Linked DNA regions of Homo sapiens: all the other regions are linked to region 1. The links are contacts of gene promoters, found by promoter capture Hi-C in blood cells and fetal thymus (Javierre and others, 2016). All regions are on one chromosome and are shown on one strand. Each heading gives the region's core, a stretch centred on a gene start or on the middle of the fragment in contact. The rest is flanking DNA. Distances are from core to core; before and after follow the strand shown.

The links. Contacts are between HindIII fragments. The CHiCAGO score rates a contact against its expected background, and 5 or more counts as called.
Region 2: a contact is called between the fragment with the promoter of BACE1 here and the fragment with the promoter of APOA1 in region 1, in 1 of 17 cell types (erythroblasts). The highest score is 5.5, in erythroblasts.
Region 3: a fragment that was not itself captured here is called in contact with the fragment with the promoter of APOA1 in region 1 in 8 of 17 cell types (total CD8 T cells, total B cells, naive CD4 T cells and 5 more); the score reaches 8.8 in total CD8 T cells.
Region 4: a contact is called between a fragment that was not itself captured here and the fragment with the promoter of APOA1 in region 1, in 13 of 17 cell types (total B cells, naive B cells, total CD4 T cells and 10 more). The highest score is 14.1, in total B cells.
Region 5: a contact is called between the fragment with the promoter of TAGLN here and the fragment with the promoter of APOA1 in region 1, in 6 of 17 cell types (total B cells, monocytes, M0 macrophages and 3 more). The highest score is 6.0, in total B cells.
Region 6: a fragment that was not itself captured here is called in contact with the fragment with the promoter of APOA1 in region 1 in 2 of 17 cell types (total CD4 T cells and activated CD4 T cells); the score reaches 5.2 in total CD4 T cells.

What each region holds. Positions count from the first base shown.
Region 1 is chr11:116,836,372-116,839,752 of GRCh38, reverse strand. It overlaps APOA1 (apolipoprotein A1), which reads left to right and starts at 2,131. Exons shown (of 4, transcript NM_000039.3): 1 at 2,131-2,148; 2 at 2,346-2,408; 3 at 2,596-2,752; 4 at 3,342-3,381. The coding sequence starts at 2,366. It also overlaps APOA1-AS. The HindIII fragment of the contact is 2,883 bases long and covers 1-2,531 here.
Region 2 is chr11:117,313,473-117,318,191 of GRCh38, reverse strand. It overlaps BACE1 (beta-secretase 1), which reads left to right and starts at 1,936. Exons shown (of 9, transcript NM_012104.6): 1 at 1,936-2,657. The coding sequence starts at 2,397. RefSeq lists silencers at 2,208-2,297, 2,388-2,497 and enhancers at 3,026-3,547, 3,548-4,070. The HindIII fragment of the contact is 5,304 bases long and covers 1-4,123 here.
Region 3 is chr11:117,271,930-117,276,648 of GRCh38, reverse strand. The region is part of intron 6 of RNF214 (ring finger protein 214); the gene reads right to left. Among named protein-coding and RNA genes, the nearest start is that of RNF214, 42 kb to the right of the region's middle. The HindIII fragment of the contact is 2,565 bases long and covers 973-3,537 here.
Region 4 is chr11:117,213,885-117,218,603 of GRCh38, reverse strand. It overlaps PCSK7 (proprotein convertase subtilisin/kexin type 7), which reads left to right. Exons shown (of 17, transcript NM_004716.4): 12 at 36-138. Among named protein-coding and RNA genes, the nearest start is that of PCSK7, 16 kb to the left of the region's middle. RefSeq lists an enhancer at 1-1,096. The HindIII fragment of the contact is 9,653 bases long and covers 1-4,719 here.
Region 5 is chr11:117,195,970-117,200,688 of GRCh38, reverse strand. It overlaps TAGLN (transgelin), which reads right to left and starts at 1,319. Exons shown (of 5, transcript NM_003186.5): 1 at 1,257-1,319. It overlaps LOC100652768 (a long non-coding RNA gene), which reads left to right. Exons shown (of 8, transcript NR_045215.1): 2 at 777-838; 3 at 1,901-1,952; 4 at 2,253-2,370; 5 at 2,782-2,903; 6 at 3,285-3,459; 7 at 3,543-3,681; 8 at 4,655-4,719. SIDT2 (SID1 transmembrane family member 2) reads right to left here. Exons shown (of 26, transcript NM_001040455.2): 26 at 3,247-4,685. The coding sequence ends at 4,623. RefSeq lists a silencer at 2,402-2,696 and enhancers at 2,099-2,762, 4,095-4,594. The HindIII fragment of the contact is 9,715 bases long and covers 1-4,719 here.
Region 6 is chr11:117,176,283-117,181,001 of GRCh38, reverse strand. It overlaps SIDT2 (SID1 transmembrane family member 2), which reads right to left and starts at 2,259. Exons shown (of 26, transcript NM_001040455.2): 1 at 1,556-2,259. The coding sequence starts at 1,738. It also overlaps a transcript of PAFAH1B2 not described here. RefSeq lists an enhancer at 901-970 and a silencer at 1,951-2,160. The HindIII fragment of the contact is 378 bases long and covers 2,405-2,782 here.

The DNA.
Region 1 (3,381 bases), core at 882-3,381:
ATAAGGGAATACATTACCAGAAACTGGGATTCTAGAAAACAGAATAGTTACTGTTTACTAAGTGCTAGGTACCTTTCTAACAGTTTTGCATATATGTTCAAAGTTCATGCTTAAAACGATACAAATTTATTATCTTACAGTTATGGAGGACAGAAGTCCAAAATGGGTCATACTGGGCTAAAATCATGGTGGCAGCAGAGCTGTGCTCCTGGAGGCTGCAGGGAAAAATCCTTTGCCTTCTCCAGCTTCTAGGGAAGGGTTGCTCATGTCCCTCAGCTCATGGCCCCCTTCCAGCAGTCACGAGTCTGATCTCCACTGCCATCCTCACATCTCTTTCTCTGACTCTGAGGCCACTGCCTCCCTCTTGTATAATTAAGGACCCCTGTGATGACAATGGGCCCACCTGGAGAATCCAGGCCAACCACCCCATCTCCAGGTCCTTAATCACACTAGCAAAATCTTTTTTTGCCATGGAAGGTAGCAAAGCCACAGGTTCCAGGGATGAGGCTGTGGACATCTTTGGGGAGCGTTATTCTGCTTGCCACACAGTAACCCCTGCCATAACTCAGGGCGATGGCATATTCTATCATTATCTTCAATCAGAAACTGATGTGTGGGGAGGTGATGTATCATAACTCATCCAGGGTCAGGCAGCTGGATTTGAACCTGCCTGACCCTTAGATTTGAGGTTTTCTGGCTCCAGAATCTTCTCTGAAGTGAAAGGCATGAGGCCGACCACTCCCTGATCTGGTAAACAGAGATGTCAGCCTGGTTTCTAGTGTTAGGGAGTTTCCTGGAGTGATGGTACAGGGTACATTTCTGCCCTGCATCCCAAGTCCAGAGACTGGGTTCTAGGTCCAGCCTTTCTTCTAACTCCCTGAGAGATGACAGCCTCTGGGCAAAGTCCCTCTGTGCTCTTCAGTCTCTTCATCTGTGAGATGGTGGCATGGGGAGAGGCTGGAGTGATGTCACAGTTCCTCTCAGCCTGCATCACAGGCTCTAGGACTCAGGTCCTATCAGTAACCTGCTGGGGGAGGTCTGGGCCTTCCAGGAGAAACCTGACAAGATGGTGCTGCAAACACCAACGGACACACAGCACTTTACATTCACAGGCTGTCTCAGGGGCCTCCAACAACCCTGACCATTCTTGCCCCATTTTGCAGATAGAAAACCGAGGCTCAGAGAGATTATATAACTTGCCCACGATCTTCCTCCAGCAAGATGGAGGCCAAGTGAAATGAGAAAGCAGGTCTCCTGCCACTTCCTTTGCCCAGAGGTCTTCTCCCCACACCAGGGCTTCCCAAGGGCTGAGATCCAGTCACACCTGTGCGTGATCAAATATAAGTGTGAACAATGCAAAGGGAGACGTCTTCAATCTAAGGGGCTTCAATTCTGTAATGTAATTCTGAGATTATGCCCTTTTTTGTTAAAGCCTTTCCTTTTTGAAGTGATGGTCACTGTAGATGGTGAGGGTTTTTTGGAGGCGGACAATATCTTTACATGACAAAATTAAAAGTTGGCAGCTCCGAATTGATCTCTGGAGTGTTTTGAAATGCAAGAGGTCTCCGAAACCTCAGTCTGGGAGCCACGGAGGGCTCTCCCCTCTCCCCAGGTTTACCAGTTTGGGAGGCTTGGAGAGAGGCCTGGAGGACCTGCTGGGGACTAAAGAAGAGCACTGGTGGGAGGACAGGGCGGGGGAAGGGGGAGGGGAGTGAAGTAGTCTCCCTGGAATGCTGGTGGTGGGGGAGGCAGTCTCCTTGGTGGAGGAGTCCCAGCGTCCCTCCCCTCCCCTCCTCTGCCAACACAATGGACAATGGCAACTGCCCACACACTCCCATGGAGGGGAAGGGGATGAGTGCAGGGAACCCCGACCCCACCCGGGAGACCTGCAAGCCTGCAGACACTCCCCTCCCGCCCCCACTGAACCCTTGACCCCTGCCCTGCAGCCCCCGCAGCTTGCTGTTTGCCCACTCTATTTGCCCAGCCCCAGGGACAGAGCTGATCCTTGAACTCTTAAGTTCCACATTGCCAGGACCAGTGAGCAGCAACAGGGCCGGGGCTGGGCTTATCAGCCTCCCAGCCCAGACCCTGGCTGCAGACATAAATAGGCCCTGCAAGAGCTGGCTGCTTAGAGACTGCGAGAAGGAGGTGCGTCCTGCTGCCTGCCCCGGTCACTCTGGCTCCCCAGCTCAAGGTTCAGGCCTTGCCCCAGGCCGGGCCTCTGGGTACCTGAGGTCTTCTCCCGCTCTGTGCCCTTCTCCTCACCTGGCTGCAATGAGTGGGGGAGCACGGGGCTTCTGCATGCTGAAGGCACCCCACTCAGCCAGGCCCTTCTTCTCCTCCAGGTCCCCCACGGCCCTTCAGGATGAAAGCTGCGGTGCTGACCTTGGCCGTGCTCTTCCTGACGGGTAGGTGTCCCCTAACCTAGGGAGCCAACCATCGGGGGGCTTTCTCCCTAAATCCCCGTGGCCCACCCTCCTGGGCAGAGGCAGCAGGTTTCTCACTGGCCCCCTCTCCCCCACCTCCAAGCTTGGCCTTTCGGCTCAGATCTCAGCCCACAGCTGGCCTGATCTGGGTCTCCCCTCCCACCCTCAGGGAGCCAGGCTCGGCATTTCTGGCAGCAAGATGAACCCCCCCAGAGCCCCTGGGATCGAGTGAAGGACCTGGCCACTGTGTACGTGGATGTGCTCAAAGACAGCGGCAGAGACTATGTGTCCCAGTTTGAAGGCTCCGCCTTGGGAAAACAGCTAAAGTAAGGACCCAGCCTGGGGTTGAGGGCAGGGGTAGGGGGCAGAGGCCTGTGGGATGATGTTGAAGCCAGACTGGCCGAGTCCTCACCTAATATCTGATGAGCTGGGCCCCACAGATGGTCTGGATGGAGAAACTGGAATGGGATCTCCAGGCAGGGTCACAGCCCATGTCCCCTGCAAAGGACAGACCAGGGCTGCCCGATGCGTGATCACAGAGCCACATTGTGCCTGCAAGTGTAGCAAGCCCCTTTCCCTTCTTCACCACCTCCTCTGCTCCTGCCCAGCAAGACTGTGGGCTGTCTTCGGAGAGGAGAATGCGCTGGAGGCATAGAAGCGAGGTCCTTCAAGGGCCCACTTTGGAGACCAACGTAACTGGGCACTAGTCCCAGCTCTGTCTCCTTTTTAGCTCCTCTCTGTGCCTCGGTCCAGCTGCACAACGGGGCATGGCCTGGCGGGGCAGGGGTGTTGGTTGAGAGTGTACTGGAAATGCTAGGCCACTGCACCTCCGCGGACAGGTGTCACCCAGGGCTCACCCCTGATAGGCTGGGGCGCTGGGAGGCCAGCCCTCAACCCTTCTGTCTCACCCTCCAGCCTAAAGCTCCTTGACAACTGGGACAGCGTGACCTCCACC
Region 2 (4,719 bases), core at 687-3,186, 480 kb before region 1:
AGGAATGAAATTGGATTTGGTTTTTTTTCCTTCCAAATGGGCTGCCAGACGTCCCAACAACAGTTTTTGAATAATGCGTCCATTTTCCTCTAATACGAATGCCATCTCTATCATATCTACAATTCCCATAGATACATTTCTCTATTTTGATTTCGATTTTTTTAACTTGTGTCTAATCATCTTATTGATTAGGGTTTTCTATCCATATCATATAATCTGCAACTAATGATTCCTTTGCTTTCCAACATATATAACACTTTTTCCATTTTCTTGTCTTTTGAGTCAATCAGACCGGTCTGAACCGTGTAGGATAAGAGTAGAGATAATGATCGGCCGGGCGCGGTGGCTCACGCCTGTAATCCCAGCACTTTGGGAGGCCGAGGCGGGAGGATCACGAGGTCAGGAGATCGAGACCATCTTGGCTAACACGGTGAAACCCCGTCTCTACTAAAAATACAAAAAATTAGCGGGGCGTGGTTGCAGGCGCCTGTAGTCCCAGCTATTCGGGAGGCTGAGGCAGGAGAATAGCCTGAACCCGGGAGGCAGAGCTTGCAGTGAGCTGAGATCCCACCACTGCACTCCAGCCTGGGCGACAAAGCGAGACGCCTTCTCAAAAAAAAAAAAAAAAAGAGTAGAGATAATGATCTTTCCTTTCCAAAGCCTGCCTTTAATGGGAGTAACGTAGCCTGTTATTACTACATTTGTTGTTGTTGTCGTTATCTTGTTTAAAAAGTTTCCTGGCTGGGTACAGTGGTCCATGCCTATAATCCCAGCATTTTGGGAGGCCGACGTGGGCGGATCACTTGAGGCCAGGAGTTCGAGACCAGCCTGGCCAACATGGTGAAATCCCATCTCTACTAAAAATACAAAAATTAGCTGGGTATGGTGGCGCATGCTTGTAATCCCAGCTACTCAGAGGCTGAGGCATGAGAACTGCTTGAACCCGGGAGGCGGAGGTTGCAGACTTGAGACCATGCCACTGCACTCCAGCCTGGGTGACAGAGCAAGTCTCCTTTTCAAAAGAAAAATGAAGATTCCCTTTCATTTTTTAAAAAAATTAAATCAGAGTAACTGCTGAATTTTATCAATGGCTTTCCACATTTGATAAACAATATATTGTTAAAACCATACCGGCTTTTCTCCTTTAAGCTATTAGAACTCTAACGCTTTTGGTTCAAGGCTTTAAGCTCTTACCAGTTAATATAGAGATACTTTTCGGAGTGTTAACACTTTAAAGCTATCAACAGCCATTTCTCCTCAGTCTGGCTGATGGTGCAGAAAATCAGAGGAGCCATAAGGATTCAAGTAGAGCCTCAAGGGCACAAACAGGTTCAGATGGGAGAAGACCCACTGGCTCTTACCTGCCCGCAGATCGCAGGCGCAGGAGAAAATAAGACAACTGCACTTTCCCCTTTTGGACCCTGCTCCGCTGGTTTGCAGCCTGGAAAAACTCTTCCTCCCCTTTCATCCTGCTCCCTCAATCTCTGCTCGTGAAAATCCTACCCATTTTTAAACGCTCAAATTAAATACCACCTTCTCCCACTGAGTCTTCCCAGATCCCCTAGATGTCCCTCCAAATCCCTACTCCTTAATGCCACATCGTATAGTGTGAAACCCCACCGCGGCAGGAATCACTTAACTGTCCCGTGTAGAATCACCGTTTATTTCTCTCTGTATCTCCAGCGCCTGGCAGTGTGCCTGGCATACAGTGGGTGCTCCTTCCATGCTGAAAGAAAGACTGACAGACGGGAGGTGTGCCCCTCTCCATCCGTCTGGCCCTTCCCGCCAGGGCCTTGCAGGGCGGACTCCACCTCGGCAGAGGGCATCCCAGACCCCTCTCCAGCCCCGGAAGCCGGATTGCCTGCCATGGGAAGACTACACTTCCCAGCGATCCCAGGGAAAAGCGAAAACCTTTTGGCTTTGACAGCCGCCGCCACAAGTCTTTCCGCCTCCCCAGCCCGCCCGGGAGCTGCGAGCCGCGAGCTGGATTATGGTGGCCTGAGCAGCCAACGCAGCCGCAGGAGCCCGGAGCCCTTGCCCCTGCCCGCGCCGCCGCCCGCCGGGGGGACCAGGGAAGCCGCCACCGGCCCGCCATGCCCGCCCCTCCCAGCCCCGCCGGGAGCCCGCGCCCGCTGCCCAGGCTGGCCGCCGCCGTGCCGATGTAGCGGGCTCCGGATCCCAGCCTCTCCCCTGCTCCCGTGCTCTGCGGATCTCCCCTGACCGCTCTCCACAGCCCGGACCCGGGGGCTGGCCCAGGGCCCTGCAGGCCCTGGCGTCCTGATGCCCCCAAGCTCCCTCTCCTGAGAAGCCACCAGCACCACCCAGACTTGGGGGCAGGCGCCAGGGACGGACGTGGGCCAGTGCGAGCCCAGAGGGCCCGAAGGCCGGGGCCCACCATGGCCCAAGCCCTGCCCTGGCTCCTGCTGTGGATGGGCGCGGGAGTGCTGCCTGCCCACGGCACCCAGCACGGCATCCGGCTGCCCCTGCGCAGCGGCCTGGGGGGCGCCCCCCTGGGGCTGCGGCTGCCCCGGGAGACCGACGAAGAGCCCGAGGAGCCCGGCCGGAGGGGCAGCTTTGTGGAGATGGTGGACAACCTGAGGGGCAAGTCGGGGCAGGGCTACTACGTGGAGATGACCGTGGGCAGCCCCCCGCAGACGGTAAGGTGGTCAGGCCAGCCCTTAGCCCTCCGCCTGCATGAGCAGAGGGGAGACAGGATGGGGATGCCTCAAGCTAGCCCCTGCTCAAATGGGCTGGTGGGGACAGCAGGAGGGACCCCTCCCCAGCCATTCCCCGGGGGTCACGTGGTTGTTGGCAGAAGTGTTCCCAAGCTCCCCATTCCCTCCTCGTCTCCCCTGGCTGCCTAGTTCCCCTTGCTCCTCATCTGACACATACGCCGTCTGGAAGGATTTGAGGCAAGACAGACACATCAGCTGGGGACCCTGACCTGGAGGAAGGGTCCGCCACAGGGGCACTATAACAGGTGTCAGCCCCCTCTGACAGTGGCCCAGTCCGAGTCTCCCAAATCCCACCACTCTAGAGGTTGGCCACCCAACCTTGTCCCCTCCTCTGATTCCCACCATTGTTCCCAGTACCTCCAGGACCAAGGAATCCTGGCAGCAGTTGAATAAGCACCTTGCTCCCACCATCTGGGCTGCCACTGGTACGGCAAAGTGAGGTTGTCGAGGCCCCCCTGACTGCACTCCGCCCGGAAGCCCTGGACAGGCTCCTGCCGTCCCCTCCTCCTCCCCTTCTCCCTCTCGCGGTCTACACTCCGGCCCCTCCCCCACCCCACACCTCCCCAGGCCAGAGGGGAACTGAACTGAGCCTGGTGAAAGAACAAATGGTAGGAAAGGAGCCAGAGCTCCCTTTTAAGAGTGGGACTCCTTCCATGGCGGGGGAGAGGGGAGTTACAGAGAAAACACTGTTATGCCCTCCCCATCCTTCCTGACAATCTCCAAGGTACCTTCAAGGTGGCTGGTGGAGGTGGCACCCTCTGCACCTCTGTGGGTGAGCAGCCCTCCATGTGGGGTGCTGTGGCTGACCTCTGTGTGCATCTGCCGCCTCTGTGGGGCAGTCCGGGCCCGGGCAGCCCTGTGGTTCTGTGTATGCTGGTGCGTGTCACCTTGAATCTGATCCTGCACATCTGTGAGCCACCTCCGGATCTGTGTCTGGGAAGTCTGTCCTTGGGAGGGTCTGTGAAGGTGGGAGTGTGTTTGGGGTGGGCGGAGGGGACAGCCACACTTTCCTGAACTTCTCAGACAGCTGGATCTGGGAGAAACACAAACCCCCACCTCCCAATTACTTTACAGAAGCCAGCCTTCCTAGGTGCGTGCTCCCCAGCCCTACCTCTCAGCTAGTCGAAAGCCTGGTCTTCCCCACTTTCTCATCCTCTTTCCTGTGCACCATAACTTCCCCAGCAGTAGTCTCCAGTGGGAATTTGGGAGGGCAGGACAGAAGCCAAATCCAGGCCCTGAGCAAACAGAACGCTAGATGATATCGTCAGGGAGCAGCAGGTATGCAGAGACCTGGGACCTACTCCTGTTTCTGCGACTGACATGCTGTGCACACTGTGCATGGACCCCATGGCACGATGCAGGACGGGGCTGCAGAACCCACACAAGCTTTGAGGTCAGACAGTCCACGAATCCCAGCTCTACCACCCACAGCTTTTCCTCTTCTCAGCTGTGTGGCCTTGGGCAAATTGCATAACCTCTCTGAAACTACTGTCATATCTTTAAAATGAGTAGGAAATGAGACCTCCTTTGCAAGGTAATTGTGAGGATTAAGTTGTGAGGGTTAATTGTTCTAGGTGCTTTCACCCAGAACAATACACCAGCATATAAAACTGACCTCCAACAAATATGAAGTCACTTTATCCTTGTCTGGCCTGTTCTGCCTCTTCAATTCTATGCAATGAGGCATAAAAACTCGGATGTCCTGGGCCTCCACGTTTTACATGTATAAAACTGGGGTATCCTGTAATCCCAGCACTTTGGGGGGCCAAGGTGGGCAGATCACCTGAGGTCAGGAGTTCGAGACCAGCTTGGCTAACATAGCAAAACCCTGTTTCTACTAAAAATACAAAAATAATTCGCCGGGCCTGGTGGCATGCACCTGTAATCCCAGCTACTCAGGAGGCTGAGGCAGGAGAATCGCTTGAACCTGGGAGGCGGAGGTTGCAGTGAGACAAGATCGCACCATTGCCCTCCAGCCTGGGCA
Region 3 (4,719 bases), core at 1,006-3,505, 440 kb before region 1:
CAACAATAGCAAAAATGGTTAAGAAATTATTTTCTTATTTTCTTTTTTTTAGAGAGAGGGTTTCACTGTATTGTCCAGGCTGGAGTACACTGGCATGATCATAACTCACTGTAACCTTGAACTCCTGAACTCCCACCTCAAATTCCTGAGTAACTAGGACTATAAGCATGTATCATCATGCCCAGCAAATTTTTTAATTTTTTGAGAGAAAGAGTCCCACTATATTGCCCAAGCTGGTCTGGAACTCCTGGACTCAAGTGATCTTCCTGAACTGGCCTCCCAAAGCTCTGGGATTACAAGCATGAGCCACTGTGCCCGGCCTTGTTCCAGTTCTGAGGGGGAATGCTTTCAGCTTTTCTCTCTTCAGTATGATGGTGGCTGTGAGTTTGTCATATATGGCTTTTATTATTTTGAGGTATGTTCCTTCTGTGCCTAATTTGTTGAGGGTTTTTTTTACCACAAAGGGATACAGGATTTTATCAAATGCTTTTTCTAAATCTATTGAAATGATCATATGGTTTTTAATTCGGTTTATGTGGTGAATCACATTTATTGACTTGTGTATGCTGAGCCATCCTTGCCTCACTGGGATGAAGCCCACTCGATTGTGCTGAATTATCTTTTTGATATGCTGTTCAATTTGGTTTTGCTAGTACTTTGTTGAGGACTTTTGCATCTATGTTCATCAGGGATACTGGTCTGCAGTTTTCTTTTTTTGTTGTGTCCTTTCCTGGCTTTGGTATCAGGGTGAGACTGGCTTTGTAGAATGAGTTAGAGAGGATTCCTTCCTTCTTGATCTTCTGGAATAGTTCCAGTAGGATTGGTATCAGTTCTTTGAATGTCTGGTAGAATTTGGCTGTGAATCCATCTGGACCTGGGATGTCTTGGTTGGGAGATTTTTTAAATTACTGATTCAATCAAACTACTTGCTATTGGTCTGTTCAAGATTTCTATTTCTTCCTGGTTCAAGCTTGGGGGGTTGTGTGTTTCCAGGAATTTATCCAGTTCATCTAGGTTTTCTGGTTTGTATACATATATGTGTTCACAGCAGTCTCAGATGATCTTTTCTATTTCCGTGGTATCAGTTATGGTATCTCTATTTTCATTTTTGACTAAGTTTATTTGAATCCTCTCACAGCTAATCTACCTAATGGTCTATTATTTTTGCTTATCGTTTCAAAGAAACAACTTTTAATTTTATTGATCCTTTGTATTTTTTGGTTTCAATTTTGTTTAGTTCTGTTCTTTGTTATTTCTTTTCTTCTGCTAGCTTTGGGTTTGGTTTCTTCCTGTTTTTTTAGTTCCTTGAGGTGTGATATTATTAGACTGTCAATTTGTGACCTGTCTTTTTGATGAAGGCATTTGGCACTATAAACTTCCCTCTTAGTATTGCTTTTGCTGTATCTGAGATTTTGATAACTTCTGTCACCGTTATCAATCATTTTTAAAAAATTTTAATTTCTATCTTGATTTCATTGTTAACTCAAAGATCATTCAGGACAGGTTGTTTAATTTCTAATTTCTATAGGTTTGAGAGTTCCTCTTCAAACTGATTTCTAGTTTTATACTGCTAGGGTCTGAGAAAACACTTAATATTATTTCTATTTTAAAAAATATTAAGACTTGTTTTGTAGCCTATCATATGGCCTATCTTGAAAAATGTGCCACTAGGCCAGGTGCAGTGGCTCACACCTGTAATCTCAGTTGTTTCTGGAGGCTGAGGTGGGTGGATCACTTGAGGTCAGGAGTTCAAGACCAGCCTGGCCAACATGGCAAAACCCCGTCTCTACAAAAAAAAAAAATTTACAAAAATTAGCCAGACATCATGGCGCCCATCTGTGTTCTACTTGGGAGGCTAAGGCAGAAGAACTGCTTGAACCCGGGAAGCGGAGGTTGCAGTGAGCTGAGATTGTGCCATTGCACTCTGGCCTGGGCAACAAGAGTAAAACTCTGTCTCAAAAAAAAAAAAAAAAGAGCCATGGCTGGGCACGGTCGCTCACGCCTGTAATCCCAGAACTTTGGGAGGCCAAGGTGGGCAGATAACCTAAGGTCAGGAGTTCGAGACTAGCCTGGCCCAACAGGGTGAAACCTCGTCTCTACTAAAAATACAAAAAAAAAATTAGCCGAGTGTGGTAGTGGGCACCTGTAATCCCAGCTACTCAGGAGGCTGAGGCAGGAGAACTTCTTGAACCCAGGAGGCGGAGGTTACAGTGAGCCAAGATTGTGCCATTGCACTCCAGCCTGGGCAACAAGAGCAAGTCTCCATCTCAAAAAAAAAAAAAAAAAAAAAAAGAAGTCATTTGTTTTCCCAGTACTAGGGGCTTTCTCCTCTCTCCCCTTCATCTAGTAAGATAGCATATTGGCCCCAAATTCTAACTAACTACTCCTTTGAGTTACCCACCACTGAGTTCTTCCATGTGTATGCACATTGCACATGTAAATAAACTGTTTTTCCCTCCTGTTAATCTGTTATTTTGAAACTGTCCCTATAAACTGTATGAAATTCATCGGGGAAGAAGAGGGGGGAGAAACGAAAATAAACGAGGCTTGCAGCACATGCAGTGTTTATCATGAGGTCAGCTTGCTCTCTGACTAGCTACTTCACCAGTGTTTTGCGCCTGCTGCCTCAGAATCACATAGACCCTGCTACGAGATTAAAGTTCCCCTTAAGTGTTCTATAGACAACATGAACATTATAAAACATTAAGTTTTCCCTTTAAGATATTCTTTCAGATCCTGCATAGCAGTGAAATTATTGACATCAGCCTGTCTGAAGGACCCCACTGACGCCAGTTGGTCTGAAGGATCCCAGAGGAGCTGACTCACCAAAGAATGCAGTTTCCACATCTTGATGATTTCATCCCCCGTATCCCAACCAATCAACGACCTCAATTTTCCCGCCCCTTACCTTCCACAATCCCCTTAAAACTTAAAATACCAGCCCATAACTCCTCAGGGGAAATGGATTTGAGGGTCTCCTCCCATGTCCTCACTCAATGCTCTGCAATCATTAAACTCTTTCTCTGCTGCAAACCCTGCTGTTTCAATGTAACTGATCTACTACTGCACAGTGGTCATATAAACTTGTTGGTTGTATAACATTTTGTCAGTTTAATTTTCGGGCCCTAATCTCTGAACATAAGAAGGTAGAGAAAAGGTTTCTCTTCCCCATACAACATACAAAATATCCATTCAAAATTCAAGGTAAACAAATAGATTTTAATGTACTAGTATAAAAAACTTCACAGCTTGCCAGGAATAAAACTAAAATAATAATAATAATAATAAAACAAATTTGAAAATAAAAGCAAAATGTTTATTGATGTGGTTTCAGATCCCACAATGCAACTTAACTTTAAGACACCAACACACCAAGTTTTGGCATAGTATCAAAGATGAATATCCACAATTATCTTTAAAAGCTATTAAAATACTCTTTGCTTTCCAACTACTTATCTGCATATCATCAGATTTTCTTTATATATTTCAACCAAAACAATATATTGCAATCAATTAAATATAGCAGATAAGTAAGCTTCTTCCATGAAAGAGATTTACAAAATGTAAACAATATTATTATTCTAACTAAACTGATCTTTATCTGAAAAATATTTTTCATAGAAAATATGCTATTTAACACATAGGTTTATTATTTTAAAATAAATTAATGCATAAATATTAAATTTTTTCTCAGTTTTAATTTCTGGTTCAGTATATACTGATAGATAAAATCCATATAAACAAAACCTCTTTGGGGTCCTTGTTAATTACTAAGAGTTTAAAAGGGTCCTTAGACTAAAATGTTTCAGCACCTCTAATCTACTATACTCCCATCTCATCTCTACCCACATGGATAATTTTTAGCATCTAGTCATATTCCTTATTTTCTACCCTTTACAACAACCTTTGTGAACTCAATATCCATATTCATGATCCATATGAGACTAAGACCTTGGAGTTCTTCCTCCTCCTAAACTTCATTCCTTGACAATTGCCTACCAGGAAAGCCATTTCTTTCTTTTTAAAAAAAAAAAAAAAATTTTAATTTTACTTTAAGTTCCGGAATACTAGTGCAGAATATGTAGGTTTGTTACATAGGTATACATGTGCCATGGTGGTTTGCTCCACCTATCAACCCGTCATCTAGGTTTTAAGCCCCGCATACATTAGCTATTTGTCCTAATGCTCTCCCTCCTCTTCCTCCCTACCCCCCCAACTGACCCTGGTGTGTGTTGTTCCCCTTTCTGTGGCCATGTGTTCTCACTGTTCAACTCCCACTTATGAGTAAGAACATGCGGTGTTTGGTTTTCTGGCAGCAAAGCCACCCCTTAAACCATATTAACACACGGAAAGTCTACACTGAAAACCTCAAACTTTGGTCCAGGCAAGGTGGCTCAAGGTGGTGGTTGGTGGTTGTTTTTAGAGACAGGGTTTCACTGTGTTACCCAGGCTGGAGTACAGTGGCACAATCGTAAGCTCACTGGAACCTCAAACTCATGGGCTCTAGTGATTCTCCTGCCTCAGCCTCCCAAGTAGCTACAGGCATATACCACCATGCCTGGCTACCAGCACTTTGGAAGGCCAAAGTAGGAGGATCACTTGAGCCCAGGAGTTCAAGACTAGCCTGGGCAACATGGCAAGACCCTCGCCTCTAAGAAAAATAAAAAGATTAACTGGGCACGGTGGTGTGCTCCTGCAGTCCTAGCTACTTGGGAGGCT
Region 4 (4,719 bases), core at 724-3,223, 380 kb before region 1:
TTGTTGATTTGCCATCCCCTCCTTTCCTTTCATAGATCTGGACATCTGTCCCTTACTTAGCATCCTACGTCAGTCCCGTGTTAAAAGAAAACAAGGCGATTCCGCAGTCCCCCCGTTCCCTGGAGGTCCTGTGGAATGGTAAGTAATCAGCACAAAGGGGGTTAATCTTAGGCCTGAGGTTTGGGGCCGGGTGACAAGGAAGTTAAACTCGTCCTCCCTGCCAGATTCTACCCCCTTTCGGAGCTGAGCTCCAGCCAAACCTGTGGAGTTTTCTTTGACCATTTTAGGACATGTTACTGCTTCTGAGTTGGCTCCCCCAGCTGCTTAAACAAGACCTTTCTCCTGGGTTCCTAGTAGTGAAAAGGAGCAGCAGAGCAACTGAGGAGGAGGGCGGGTGGGAGGCATGGGACTGGGGCTTGGGGAGGTCAGGCGAGACCGGGGTGAGAGCTCAGAGAAGCTCCTGTGACTTCCATGCTAAGATCTTGCCAGAGAACTCTGGTCAGTCCTCGGGTGTCTGGATGAAGTAAAGGAGTTAGGCATTTCTTCCTTTGATTCTCTGGCTTACCTAATAGAGAGAGTCAGATGTGGTCTGCTGGGGATGGACAGAGGGTTTGTAGAAGTCTCCTAGGCTTTAGTGACCCATCCTCTGCCTCCGCCTCCATGGTGGCCAGCATGAACCAGGATTGTCTGAAGGGGTTGTATCCTCTAAGCCAGCGACCTGGTTTTATGTTGAGCGAAGAGGCGGACGCCCTCCCTAGAGGAGAGTGCAGCTGGATCAGGATGCTTGTGCAGAGGATGCCCTGTCTGCACATTTACCAGCGTTTTCCCTACCCCCAGCTCCTTGGGGGATTCTTTTTCCTGGAGTCATTTACTACTTTTTGCAAAGGAAGTATGCTATGCTTAGTGCCCAAACCAAAACTGTCTTCACTTTTTCTGTCCTCCTAGAAAGTGATCAATTGAGAGCCATGGCAGGAGAAGGAATGGCCAGAGAAGGTTACTCAGAAGGGAGGATGAGGGGTGGCTTCCCTCAGGTGAAGGTTTCACAGAGAAGAATTGAGTTTTCTCCTCCTAACCACATCCAGCACTTGCCCAATTTCCCTCAATGTGGAATGAAACCCCTGGGCCAGTCACTGCATTTCCCATAAAAGGAATGTTATCTTGGAAAGGGCATAAAGCGTCAGCCAAGTCAGAGAAGTTCAGAAACATTTCCAGGAATGCAGTTCATTTGGAAGCCCCTGGCTTTGCACTTGCGTGTCTTAGAGATAGTGTGCCTTCAACTTTACCTTCTATCCAGGGCTATTTCCTGTTGCATCTGTCAAATGAGGGCAGTGACTTAAAAGAGTAATATGGTCTTCCCAGCTTCGTCATCCTCTGCTTCCTGCTGACCAGGGGACGTTGCCACGGAATGTCTACCCTAGGCATTGAGGCATCTGGCAACTGCTTGCTTGTCACTAAAAAGTAAGAGAAAGAAGGACAGATTGCCTGGGTGGAGAAGAGTGGGAGGTGGCCTAGTGGAGAAAGCAGGATTAAGAGAAGGGAGGGAAAGATTTAGGGAGTTTGGCTAATGGAGCCCTTTACCTGTTGGAAGGGCAGCAAGCAAAAGTTTTACCAGAGTTTTCCCTACCCCCAGCTCCTTGGGGGATTTTTTGTTTTGTTTCATTTTTGTTTTTGTTTTTTTGCCTTGAGTAATTTTGACATGCAGAGTTATTCACAACTTTTTGCAAAGTACTATTTTCATTGGCTTTTCAGAGCCAGTGAAGTTGCCTTCTCCTCCAACATGACCACATTTTCCTCTGAGCAGACAAAAACAGAACAAATAAGTTTGTGGGCTTGCTTGGAGGTTGAAAGAAATAAGTCCAGTTAAAATGAGAGTTGAGCCAGGTGCCCTGGCTCATGCCTGTAATCCCAGCACTTTGGGAACTTTGGGAGGCAGATAACCTGAGGTCAGGAGTTTGAGACCAACCTGACCAACATGGTGATACCCCATCTCCACTAAAAATACAAAATTAGCTGGGTGTGGTGGCTCATGCCTGTAGTCCCAGCTACTTGGGAGGCTGAGGCAGGAGAACCCGGGAGGCAGAGGTTGCAGTGAGCTGAGATCGCACCATTGCACTCCAGCCTGGGCAAGAAGAGGGAAACTCCATCTCAAAAAAAAAAAAAAAAAAAAAAATTGAGAGTTGAGCAGCTCAGTCCCAGGAAGTCAAGAAACCCCTTCTACAGCCAAGTTATGGTTGTTTTCCACCAGGACCTGGTTGATTCAGTGTCTGGGGGCTGGAAAGTGAACTTTTTATAAAGCAGAGGGAGCTGAACATCCCTGAGATAGAAGAGGAGGCTAAATACCTCTAAGACTCTAGAGTAGCATTGTCCCAAAGAATTTTCTGCAATGATGGAACTGTTCCATGTCCATGCTGCTCAGTTCAGTGGTCACTAGTCATCTGAGTCTATTGAACATTTAAAACATGACCAGTTGGCCGGGCATGGTGGCTCACACCTGTAATCCCTTTGGGAAGCTGAGGCAGGAGCATTGTTTACGCTCATGAGTTCAAGACCAGCCTGAACAACATAGTGAGACCCTATTTCTACAAAAAATAAAATTAGCCAGGTGTGGTGGTGCATGCCTCCTGGGAGGCTGAGACAGGAGGATTCCTTGAGCCCAGGATGCCAAGGCTGCAGTAAGCCATGGTTGCACTACTGCACTCTCCATCCTGGGTGACAGAGCGAGACCTTGTCTCAAAAATAATAATAGGCTAGGCGTGGTAGCTCATACCTAGCCTATAATCCCAGCACTTTGGGAGGCCAAGGGCAGGGGCGGATCACTTGAGGTCAGGAGTTCAAGACCAGCCTGGCCAACAGAGTGAAACCTCGACTCTACTAAAAAAAAAAAAAAAAACGATACAAAAATTGGCTGGGCACGGTGGCTCACGCCTGTAATCCCAGCACTTTGGGAGGCTGAGGCGGGTGGATCACAAGGTCAGGAGATCGAGACCATCCTGGCTAACACGGTGAAACCCCATCTCTACTACAAATACAAAAAAATTAGCCAGGCGTGGTGGTGGGTGCCTGTAGTCCCAGCTACTCGGGAGGCTGAGGCAGGAGAATGGCGTGAACCAGGGAGGCGGAGCTTGCAGTGAGCCAAGATCGTGCCACTGCACTCCAGCCTAGACAACAGAGCGAGACTCCATCTCAAAAAAAAAAAGTATATATATATATATATATATATATACACACACACACACACAAATTAGCCAGGCATGGTGGCACGTGCCTGTAGTCCCAGCTATTCAAGAGGTTGAGGCAGGGAAATTGCTTGAACCTGGGAGGCAGAAGTTGCAGTGAGCCAAGATTGTGCCATTGCACTCCAGCCTGGATGACAGAGCAAGACTCCATCTCAAATAATAATAATAAGGCTAGTATGACTAAGGAGCTAAATTTTAATTTTGTTATACTTCATTTTAATTTAGATAGCCATGTGTGGCTAAGGGCTACCATATTGAGAAGTGCTGCTAAAGAGCAAGACTGATTTTTCTCTCTCCCCGCTGACAGGAGGTTATGAGGGAGAGGGGATTGGGGCCTCTTGGGGTTTTTAGATCTGACGCTGGTCTGAAATCTCTACCTGAGGGTAGGAGGGAGAGTGGGGCTCTGGAGGAGTGTGTTATTCACACTCAGAGAGTCTGTGATTGGAAGGTGCCTGAACACCCACTTGCACCTCTCCTTTTGTTGTCGTTTGCAGTCTTGAGGATACTGGCTAAGCCTCTGCCTACGCAGTGAGTCCTGTTCCTTCTCCTCTCCAGGTCTTCCCTCTTTAACCAACATTTCCCTCTCTGCTGATTCTTCCTTTCTGCCTTCAAATGCAAGTCCCTGCTACCTCCAACCAGGCAACTTTTCAAATGAATGAACTGAAGCAATTTCTCCCCTTTGTCACACACTCCCTCTGCCACAGAAGACTTGCTTTCTTACTCATAGTGCCCCTTTCCTGACCGGTTCAGGGGCTGGTTCAGAGTTCATCCTTTTTAACATTCTTGTCACTCTGACCCTATTAATGAGGTCTTTGTTGCAACGTCTCTCCTCCTGTAGCTTCTGTGGCGGCCTTCTTGGCTCCATAGCCCTCCTCTGCCTTCTCTGCCTGAGGTACTTGTTTCATACTCCTGAACTGTGAGTGTCTTCTAAGGCTTGTTTCCTGACTTTTTCCTCACTCTACATCATCCTCCTTGACAGTACAGCTATGTTTATGACCTTAGCTACCACCTCTCCACAAATGAGTCCTCGACCTAAATCTCTTATTCTGATCCTTCACCAGTGGAAAGGATAGAAACTAGAGCATAGCTTCCATAAGATTATGGGCAAATAGTCCAGGCACGGTGGCTCACGCCTGTAATCACAGCACTTTGGGAGGCCGAGGTGGGCAGATCACGAGGTCAGGAGATCGAGACCATCCTGGCCAACATGGTGAAACCCCGTCTCTACTAAAAATACAAAAAAATCAGCTGGGCATGGTGGCGGGCTCCTGTAGTCCCAGCTACTCGGGAGGCTGAGGCAGGAGAATTGCTTGAACCTGGGAGGTGGAGGTTGCAGTGAGCAGAGATCATGCCACTGCACTGCAGCCTGGTGACCGAGCAAGACTCCGTCTAAAAAAAAAAAAAAAAAAAAGAAAAAGAAAAGAAAAGAAAAAGATTATGGGCAAATAGAACCCTGGCGTCTTCTGGGACAGAGAGTGACTGT
Region 5 (4,719 bases), core at 70-2,569, 360 kb before region 1:
GGGGGATGAAGCACACACCATCCCCACTCCCACCCAGCACCACCATCCTTCCCCTTCCTCCTCCTGGGTCAGGGTCGAAAAGTGGAGAATCCCCAGAAATCCTTTAGAGTCCTCTGATGAAGCCTCCCGAGTCCTGCCTTCGAGCCAGTGGGGAGGGGGAGAGGAGGATGATTACAGGGCGGCCCCCCCAGGGGCATCTCAAGACACTCCCAGGACAGCATGGACAGGCATGGACCCTCCTGCCCTGTGGCTCCTGCCAGGACCCCTCCCCTGAGCTGCCCAGTGGGTGAAAGTGGGCAGTGGAGAAAGAAAGTCCAGGGTCAAACGGGAAGGTGGCACCCCCTACCAGCAGAAGCCCAGAAACACGAGCAGAGCCAGGGGCCCCTGCAGGGCTGCTGTGCCCCTTCTCTCTTCCCAAATAGGAGTGAGCACACCTGGACCTCTGAGAGGGCAGGAGGGTGGCTCCTCTCCACTCCACGGACAAACAGGAGTGGCCTGGCTACATAAATGTGTGCCATCCTCACTGCTACCTTTGGAATAGCAACTTCGAAAGGGAACCACCCTTTGGGAAAGACCAAGGGTCCCAGGCCTGCCCCGCCTATCACTCCAAAGCTCCTCCTTGGCAGTACCCGCCCCCCACCCCTCTGCTACAGTGGGGGTGACCTCCCACTGTCAGACAGTGGAAGGGGCTGCTTGTCAGAAGGACAGGCCTTCCGTCTCCACTCTTTGCCCCTGACTGGAATACAAGAGTTCTGTGGCCCTTCACATTGTCACAGGGCTATCGCTGCTGCTCAGGCCCTGGGGACCCGCCAGAGTGGGACACCGTGCTCCAACACAGGTGCGTTCACACACTCCTCACCTCCTTGGAAGTTCTCCTGGAGGGGCAACAGACAGTAGAGCCTTGGCCTAACCGGCCGGCGCCTGCACCCTTACACACACCTTGTGGATGTGGCTGGCTGAGATGGGGAGCCTCCCTCTCACCCCGGTGGTTTCCATCAATTCCTCTGCACTAGCCAAGTCATCCGGGGCATTTCAATGAGCCCGGGGCTGCCCAGTCTGAGAGAGATCCAGGACGCTAGTGATCCAGCCCACCCTGCCTGGAGCTTGGGCCCCCATGCTGACTGAGAGGGTGGGTTTCCCTAGCCAGGGAGCTGGAGCTGGCGCCTGGGACCTCAGGAGAGCCTGCCTGAAATGCACCCACTGCTCCTGTCCAGCTCCAGCCCAACTTCCCTCCAAGCCCCAGCCAATGCACTCACAAGGCTTCCTCAGGGCTCGCAGGAAGGAGTGAAGACTTGTGTCTGGGTTCGGACAGACAGGATGGGGCGCTGGCTGGGTGAGGGGTTTAAAGGGCTGCCGCCGTGGTGATGTCAGCCTCCCCCACTGGCTCGCTCCTCGGCCCCCTCCCTGCTAGAGGAAGCCGGCTCCGCTCCCCACCCCCGGCTCCCCCAGTGACTCCACACAGGCTCCATATTTGGGGAAAGACACCAAGTTGGAGCAGTCTACCGGGGCTGCCGAGACATTCTCTGCATGCTTTGGAGATGGAGCGGGCCGGGGCGGGGCACGCTGCCGGCGGGGAGCCGGCCCGGGAAAAGCCTTTTATGGACAGGACCCTGCCCGGACTTACGGCTGCTCCTACTTCACTGTTCTCTGGCCCCGAGTTTGAGAAGAGGGGGAGTTCAATAGAGTCTGGCTGGAGAGAGGGGCAAGGGGCTGGGGAGCCGGGAATCCCAGGGGTTTGTGGGGACAAACCAGCCACCCTCTCCTCCTGGGGCTTTTAGCTCTGATGGGACATGGGATCCAACCTTTCCTGAGGACCTACTCCACACCAGGCCCTTTGCAGTGCTCTCATTGAATACTCACAGCTACAGTGTGAGGGTGTAATTACATCCCCATTTTATAGATGAGGAAACTGAGGCCCCGAGTGCGTCTTCCTCAAGGCCACATGGTGAATGGTAAGTGGCAGATCCTGCACACCTCTGCCAACCCGCATGGGTGCAGGAGAGGTGGTCAGACCCACCCTTTCAATTGGACCACCCTGCTCAGGTTGAGAAGAGCTTTCAGTGCAGGTAGGTCTTGAGTTATATGCTTTAGTTGGGGCTGGGATTTGAGGGTTCGGCAGAAGCTGAGTCCAACTCCGGTCCCCATCCAGTGGGCAGTGTCAATAAGAGGGTCTATAAGGCCTGGCAGGGCCTGAGACACTAACGCAGGAGAAGGAGGCTCAGGAGGCTGGTATCATCCCTTCCTCCCTTTAGGAACAGTCCCTACCAGCCTGGAAAACAGACCAGCCTCTGTCACTCCAGAGATAACCCACTCTCATCTTGCTCGTACCTGGCTTCAGGGATCTTGGGGAGAGATAAGAGGTTAAAAAAGGTGAGACTAACAGTGGGATCCCTGGACTGACTGCTGTGGCACTCCCCTGCAAGGGCATCTGGTAGGGAAGACCTAACACTCTCCACTACACACACACTGCCACACCCGGCACCACCCCTAGCCAAACAAGGCCCTAGGAGGGGGCTGCCAGGCCTGGCAGAGGAGGGGCCCGCCTCCGCAGTTCTGCCCACTGCAACTGGACATGCTCCAGAGCCCAGGGGAGGCACAGCCATAGCACCTCCCAGTGGCGCCTGCAGGAAAAGCAGGAAGAGGAGTGGGCCCTGGCGAGGGGAAAGCCCACTCCTCCATCCCTGACCCTGCAGACCTCTGGTTGTGTTCTGAATTCAACAGATTCCTTGGCCCCCAAATCATGTCCTCCTTAGCCGACTGAAGTCTAAATGAATCTTTCAGGGACATATCAAAACTCCCTCCTCTTGGAGCCTGCCCAGCTTTCATCACCCTCCTGCCTCGGCCTGCACGCTGAGCGGATTATAAACGCCGCATCAGGGAGCACTGCTTGGGCCTGTGGCTTGGTGAGCTGGGGGCCGCTCAGGTCAGAGGTGAAGTGAGCCTCAGTCTGGTGGGCGGGGCCAGGTGGGCAGAGACTGCTGTTCCTGGGGAGGTAAGGAGGGATGTCTGCAGTGGGATGGCGTGGGAAAGGCTTTTCCAGGAACTGGCCTCTGTCCAGCACAGTGCCCCGGTAAATGTTTACTGAATTAATGCTGTTGCTGGAGGGACAGGAAAAACGGGAGAATCAAGGAATTGCAGTTCCCAGTAGGGCCATGGCTTGAAGAATGGGGAAATGGAAGACCTCCGCCTCTCCCCTCATCCTCAACAGCTCCACCCAGAGGGAGTGCAAACAAGGGCCCCAAGAACTGAGTCTGGTTGTTTATTGAATGCAAATTCATTCATAGAAAACGGAAATGCAACCATAGCATGGAGACGCTCTGAGAAAAGATCCAGACCCACCTCATCTCCCAGCCCTTCAAGCAGAGCTATAAAAACAAGTTTGGGAGAAAAACACATTCCCATCCCCAAAGCAGAGGCCCCGCCTGAGCTCCCCCATCCTCAGCATCTGGGGTGGACCAGGTGGGACGAAGGGGATCCAAGGACCAGGGTGGCCAGGGTGCCCAGAGCTGGGGCAATTCTTTGTAAACTCCAAGGTTTCATAGGTATGTGTGTGCATGACTAACACAGAACTTGCCTGAAGACTGGACGGAAACTTAGAAGCCAGCCCTGGGTCCTAGAGCGAGGCTAGGACTGGGCACGTAGAGGGAAACAGCACATCCCTTCCTGAAGCCCCTTTCTAAGGTAGGCACTGGGGTGCCCACAGCTGTGGAGGCAGAACGGGCTGAACTCTGTATCATCCCTCCTTTGCCCCTGGACATTCTTGGGCAGTGTCAATGGCACTGAAAGGCCACCAGCTGGGGTTTGGCAAGACTAAGGGCCTGGAAAGAAGGAAGGGAAGGGGTGAGGCGCTTCTCCCTCCAGTCCTGGTGCTGGCATCAGTCTGGGAGCTGATGGGATGAAGAGGTGACCTCTGAATTCAGCCTCTTGAATCAGAAGGCGGTTCTCAAATTGGGCTGAGCGCATTGCTAAAGAGCCAGCCCTGAGCACAGGTCAGAGGGAAGAGAATACGCACTGCCCCAGGCCCCTTGCAGGCCTTAGCACCAAAAGTCTGGCACCAGCTGGCCAACCCCCAAAATCTCATACCCCCATCCATCCTGGCTGACTGGAATGGGCAGTGATGGCAGCCAGGGACAGCCCAAAGAGAACTGGGGCCCTGATACAGGACAGAGATTCAGGCCCCAGACTAGGCCCTGGAGTGGGAGTATGGGAGGAAAAAGAGGCCTTAGGTCCCAGGCTGGGGCATTGTGGGGAGGAGGACGGGCAAAATGCAAGGCATGAAATGGGGAGGGTGTCCCTTCCATCCTTCCTCTTGCAAAGGGACAAATGGAGAGCCAAAGGACAGGGGCCCATGGAAGGCCCCAACACTGAGAAGAAAGCAGCAATTTGGCCAACATCTGGGGGTTCCAGGGGAGCAGGCCTGCTCCTCGGCAGAGGGCAGCTGCAAGGTTCCATGCCACCCCATGGCTGTCCCAGGCCAAGCCTAAGCTAGACCTGGCTGTCCTGCTGCCATCCAGTGCTGGGCAGCGGTGCTGGGACTCATCCCCACAGCACGACAGAGTGACCGGTCTATGACACAAAGGAGCTCAGGGCCCCTTGAGGTGAAGCGAAGGGCCCAGCTCCTGCTAGAAGACATAGATCTTGTCCCGCTGCACAGTATCCAGGTCGTCATCCAGTGTCAGCAACACCTGGGGTGTGGACGCCAGATCAGCCACAGAGAAG
Region 6 (4,719 bases), core at 1,344-3,843, 340 kb before region 1:
GGAAGCCAGCAGGAAGCTCTAGTTAACAGCTAACCTGGGGCCAGAGCCCAGAGGAGTTGAGGAGGGGTAGGTATTGAAGGCCATGTTGTATCCTTAGCTCCCACCAAGGGACAGGGCTGTGGAGAAGTCACTTTACTTCTCTAAGCCTCAACTTCTCCCTCTATAAAATGACAGCCGGGTGCGGTGACTCACGCTTGTAGCACTTTGGGAGGCCAAGGCAGGAGGATCATCTGAGGTCAGGAGTTTGAGACCAGCCTGGCCAACATGGTGAAGCCCCATCTCTACTAAAAATACAAAAATTAGCTGGGTATGGTGGCAGGCGCCTGTAATCTCAACTACTTGGGAGGCTGAGGCAGGAGAATCGCTTGAACCGGGAAGGCGGAGGTTGCAGTGAGCTGAGATCACAAAACTGCACTTCAGCCTGGGCAACAGAGTGAGACTGGTCTCAAAAAAAAAAAAAAAAAAAAAAAGATAAAGTGATCTTCACCCTTGGAGCTATGAAGGAACATATATAAACAATGGGAGCTTAAAGGAAAAATAAAACCAAATCGATCTTGGAATGCTTGTTATTGGGCTGCTGAAACCCAAGCCCTAGGGCAGCATTTCCCAAAAGAGTAAAAACCACAGCTCTCCAGTGCCTTTAGATATGGGAAAAAAGGAAGAAAGGACTCTAAGCAGAAAGAGATCAAACTTCAGAGAACCAGGCACTGGGGGCAGATCCTGGCCTGCCACAGAAACCAAACCACTCCCCGTTCTGAAAAAAAATCAGATTCCCCATTCTCAACTCCATTGCTTCTCAGTAAACGGCAGTCATGGAGAGAGAGCAAGAGACCCGGGCACGAGACCACACAGCCAGGTTGCAAGAATTCTCCCAATCTCAGCTCTGCCTGGGGTCTAGACTTCCCACACTAGCTGTGTCTATTTCAACTCAGGGACTCACAGCTGGTGAAGAAACCAAAGAGAAGTCAGGGTGAAGTGGATTTTTCACAGTGGACAAATTCCCCTTCTCTTCCCACCCAACTTGCAGTTGGCCTTATAAAACCTCTGTCACCCTCAATTTACAAGGCCAGCTGGCTCTCCCAGGCAGGAAGAGGGCTGGGAAGCCCTGCATTCATCTCCCTGGGGAGTCTGAGATGTAACTTGCCTGCACAGAGCTTTTCAGTTCTGGGCCAGTCTCATTCCCCTGAGGTTTTCTGGGCAAGCCCAGTAATAAGCCTGTTTCCTCTCCCACCGAGACCCCACAGAGCTGTCAGATTCTGGGGTTTAGGGTAGAGAGCAAGCCATGTGTGCTCAGACCACAACTGATGGAAGAATGGGGGCGGAAGAGAAGATGGGAATGAGCCAACTTCAAAAACTGCCCAGCTGGAGCTTCAGAGAAACATTGGTGGCAAAGGAAGGAGGACTGGTCAAGAGGCTCCAGTGTGGTTCTGGGAACTGGGAACCTAGCAGGACAGCTCGTTCCTGGGGCCTCCCAAAAGGGTAGCGGGGCGGCAGAATCGCCTAGCCCTCGTCGGCTTCCCCACTCGCCTCTGGCCCCTAAGCCCCCAGCCCTCACCCTGTTGCGGGTCACAGTATGGTTGAAGGTGTAGATGTTGACCAGCTCGCTGTTGACCTCGTCCACGTAGGTGCGCTCAAACTCGGCGTCTTTCTGCGAGACGTTCTTGGGCCCCAGAACCCCCAGATGGCTCTCGACCGAGGCCACCAAGAGCACCAAGAAGGGCAAGCCCAGAGCGAACATGGCCCCGGCAGGGCGGCAGTGGCAGCGGTGGTGGCGGCGGCGGCGGCGACAGGAGACAGGACACCTCCGGGACGGGTTGCGGCTGCGGCCGCAGCTTCCAGCATCTCACCAGGACCAGAACTTTAACCCCGGCCTGAGATTAGGAAATGTCCCCTCCCAAGAGCCCCGAAGAGGCTCCCAGGGTCCCCGCAGGGGAGGGGGCGGCCGGGAGGGGGCGGGGAGGGAGGGGATGCTGGCTACGGGAAGGGGTCCCAGCTCGCGAGGGGCTGAGTACGACCTGAGACCCTGGAGCCCCGGGCCAGGGCCGTGAGAAGGAGGGCGGCTGGTTGCCGGGAGCCTGGAGACGCCGGGAAAGGGGAGGGAGGAAGAGCCGGCGGCGGGGGCTGGCCGCGGAGGAAGGCGAGTCGCAGAGTGAGGGGCGTGATAGGTGGTAGCTACCCGACGCCGTGCTGGGCTGCGAGTTTTCCGAGGTGCGGGCCCTTTAAGGGCGGGCGGACGCGCCGTCCCGACGCACGAACACTGAAAAGTGAGCTGCGCCGCTGGGCGATAAACAGCAGGGCTGCTGGCCCGCCCGCTGACGTCAGGGGAAACTGACACAGATTTAAAGGACCAGGTCCCGCATTTGCCCTTAAAGGGGCTGCAGCTGTCTAGCTGAAGGGGAAAGCTTGCAATGCCTTCTCCAACTCCTACCCAACTCTCTCCCGTGATTTTCACCATCTCTGAAACTCACGTTGGAATAGGCAGATGTTTCTGTTAACAATCTCCAAGTGTTGGGTTCTTGCTGAACAACTCTTACATTTGCTCAAACATAAGGATTCCCCCACCCCCACCACCACCTTTACAACTAACATCGTCCAACCCTGGGCCACTTTTTCTCCGGGGATCTTAAAAAATGAAAAACTCGAAGGATTAGGAAACAGGACGGTGGCCCTACCGGCGGAGGGGAAACGGAGGCAGCACTGCAGGAGGAATCCCCATGCCTTTCCCACCTCCCTCTAGAGGGGCCACACAACTGCAGGGACGGCCTTCCGAGCTTTCCAAGCTTGCCGGGCTGTTTCCCCTCTTCTCTCAGAGACAGTTACAAAACTCATTGAAAGATACTGACCTTCAGTGTAAATTGGTGAAAACTTTTCTACAAAATATTTTGGCACTGTTTCAAGAAACTTAGAGAGCTTTATACCCTTTGATCCAGTAATTCCACTTCTGGACTCTATCCTAAGGAAATAGGAAGCACAGATAAAAATACCTGGGCAGCTACGCTTATCACTGTGATATTTATAATATAAAGCAAAAAGGAAATGACTTGGATATCCATAATGAGGGATTGGTTAAATGCACTATCATGAAGGCATCAAAAATGATGCTTAAGACTTCACAGGACACGTAAGCAGAGAATTCAGGATATGACACTAAATAAACAGTATATAGAGCCAGGTGCCGTGGCTCACACGTGTAATCCCAACACTTTGGGAGGCCAAGACAGGTAGATCACTTGAGGTCAGGAGTTCGAGACCAGCCATGGCCAACATGGTGAACCCCATCTCTACTATAAAAATACAAAATTAGTGGGGCGTGGTGACGCGTGCCTGTAATCCCAGCTACTGGGGAGGCTGAAGCAGGAGAATCGCTTAACTCTACCAGGCGGAGGTTGCAGTGAGCTGAGATCATGCTCCTGCACTCCAGCCTGGGCTGCAACAGAGCAAGACTCTGTCTCAAAAATAAATAAGTAAATAAAACCGTATATATTCCAAATGCATATAGACATGCATAGAAAAATAGAAAAAAATTGTACTAAACATTTAGCAATGTCTCCAGAAAGCAGGGCAAATTTTAAAAATAAAATTTAGCAGTAGTTATCTTTGAATTACAATTTTAAAAATAACACATATTGTATATCATTTTCCTTTAATTCTAAAAATATAGAGTAGTACCAAAAAATAAAAAATAATGGATTGTGAGTGGTTCTTAAATTTTATTTTTTATATTTAAAAAGATTTACAAATGTTCTACAATGTATATATATTTATATATTGCTTTTTTATCTGCCGGGGGGTGGAGACAGGGTCTCGCTCTGTTGCCCAGGTTGGAGTGCAGTGGCACAATCTCAGCTCATTGCAACCTCTGCCTCCTGGGTTCAAGCAATTCTCCTGCCTCAGTCTCCCGAGTAGCTGGGATTACAGGCCATGTGCCACCACGCCCAGCTAATTTTTGTATTTTTGGTAGAGACGGGGTTTCACCATATTGGTCAGGCTGGTCTCGAACTCCTGACCTCAGGTGATCCACCCACCTCAGTCTCCCAAAGTGCTGGGATTATAGGCATGAGCCACCATGCCTGGCCACATATATTGCATTTATAAGACAAATTAGACTTTTTTTTTTTTTTTTTTTTGAGATGGAGTCTCACTGTCACCCATGCTGGAGTACAGTGGTGTGATCTCAGCTCACTGCAATCTCCGCCTCCTGAGTTCAGGCGATGCTCCTGCCTCAGCCTCCCAAGTAGCTGGGACTACAGGCACCCGCCACCACACCCTGCTAATTTCTTGTATTTTTAGTAAAGCGGGGTTTCACCATATTGGTCAGGCTGATCTCGAACTCCTGACCTCGAGTGATCCACCCACCTAGGCTTCCCAAAGTGTTGGGATTACAGGCGTGAGCCACTGCGCCCGGCCAAATTAGACATGTTTAAAGGAAAAGAAATGTGGCCACCTCTGAAGCTGTCAGACATCCTAATAAAGCCACCCAGATCAGTGCCTTGTCAGAGTTCTCTCAGCTGGCAGGATTGCAGCAGTCTCAGCTCCCAGCCCTGCCCAACTATCTGGAGCCTTGTTCCAATGAAGACTATTTTACCTTATGATCAGTTAGTTATATTTACTCATTCCTGCAATAAATATTTAATAAGCATCCACGATGTGCCAGGTACTGTTGTAGTTATGCTGGGCAAATGGTGAGTGGAGGAATTAGTTTTGGCCCCTGTCCAAGCA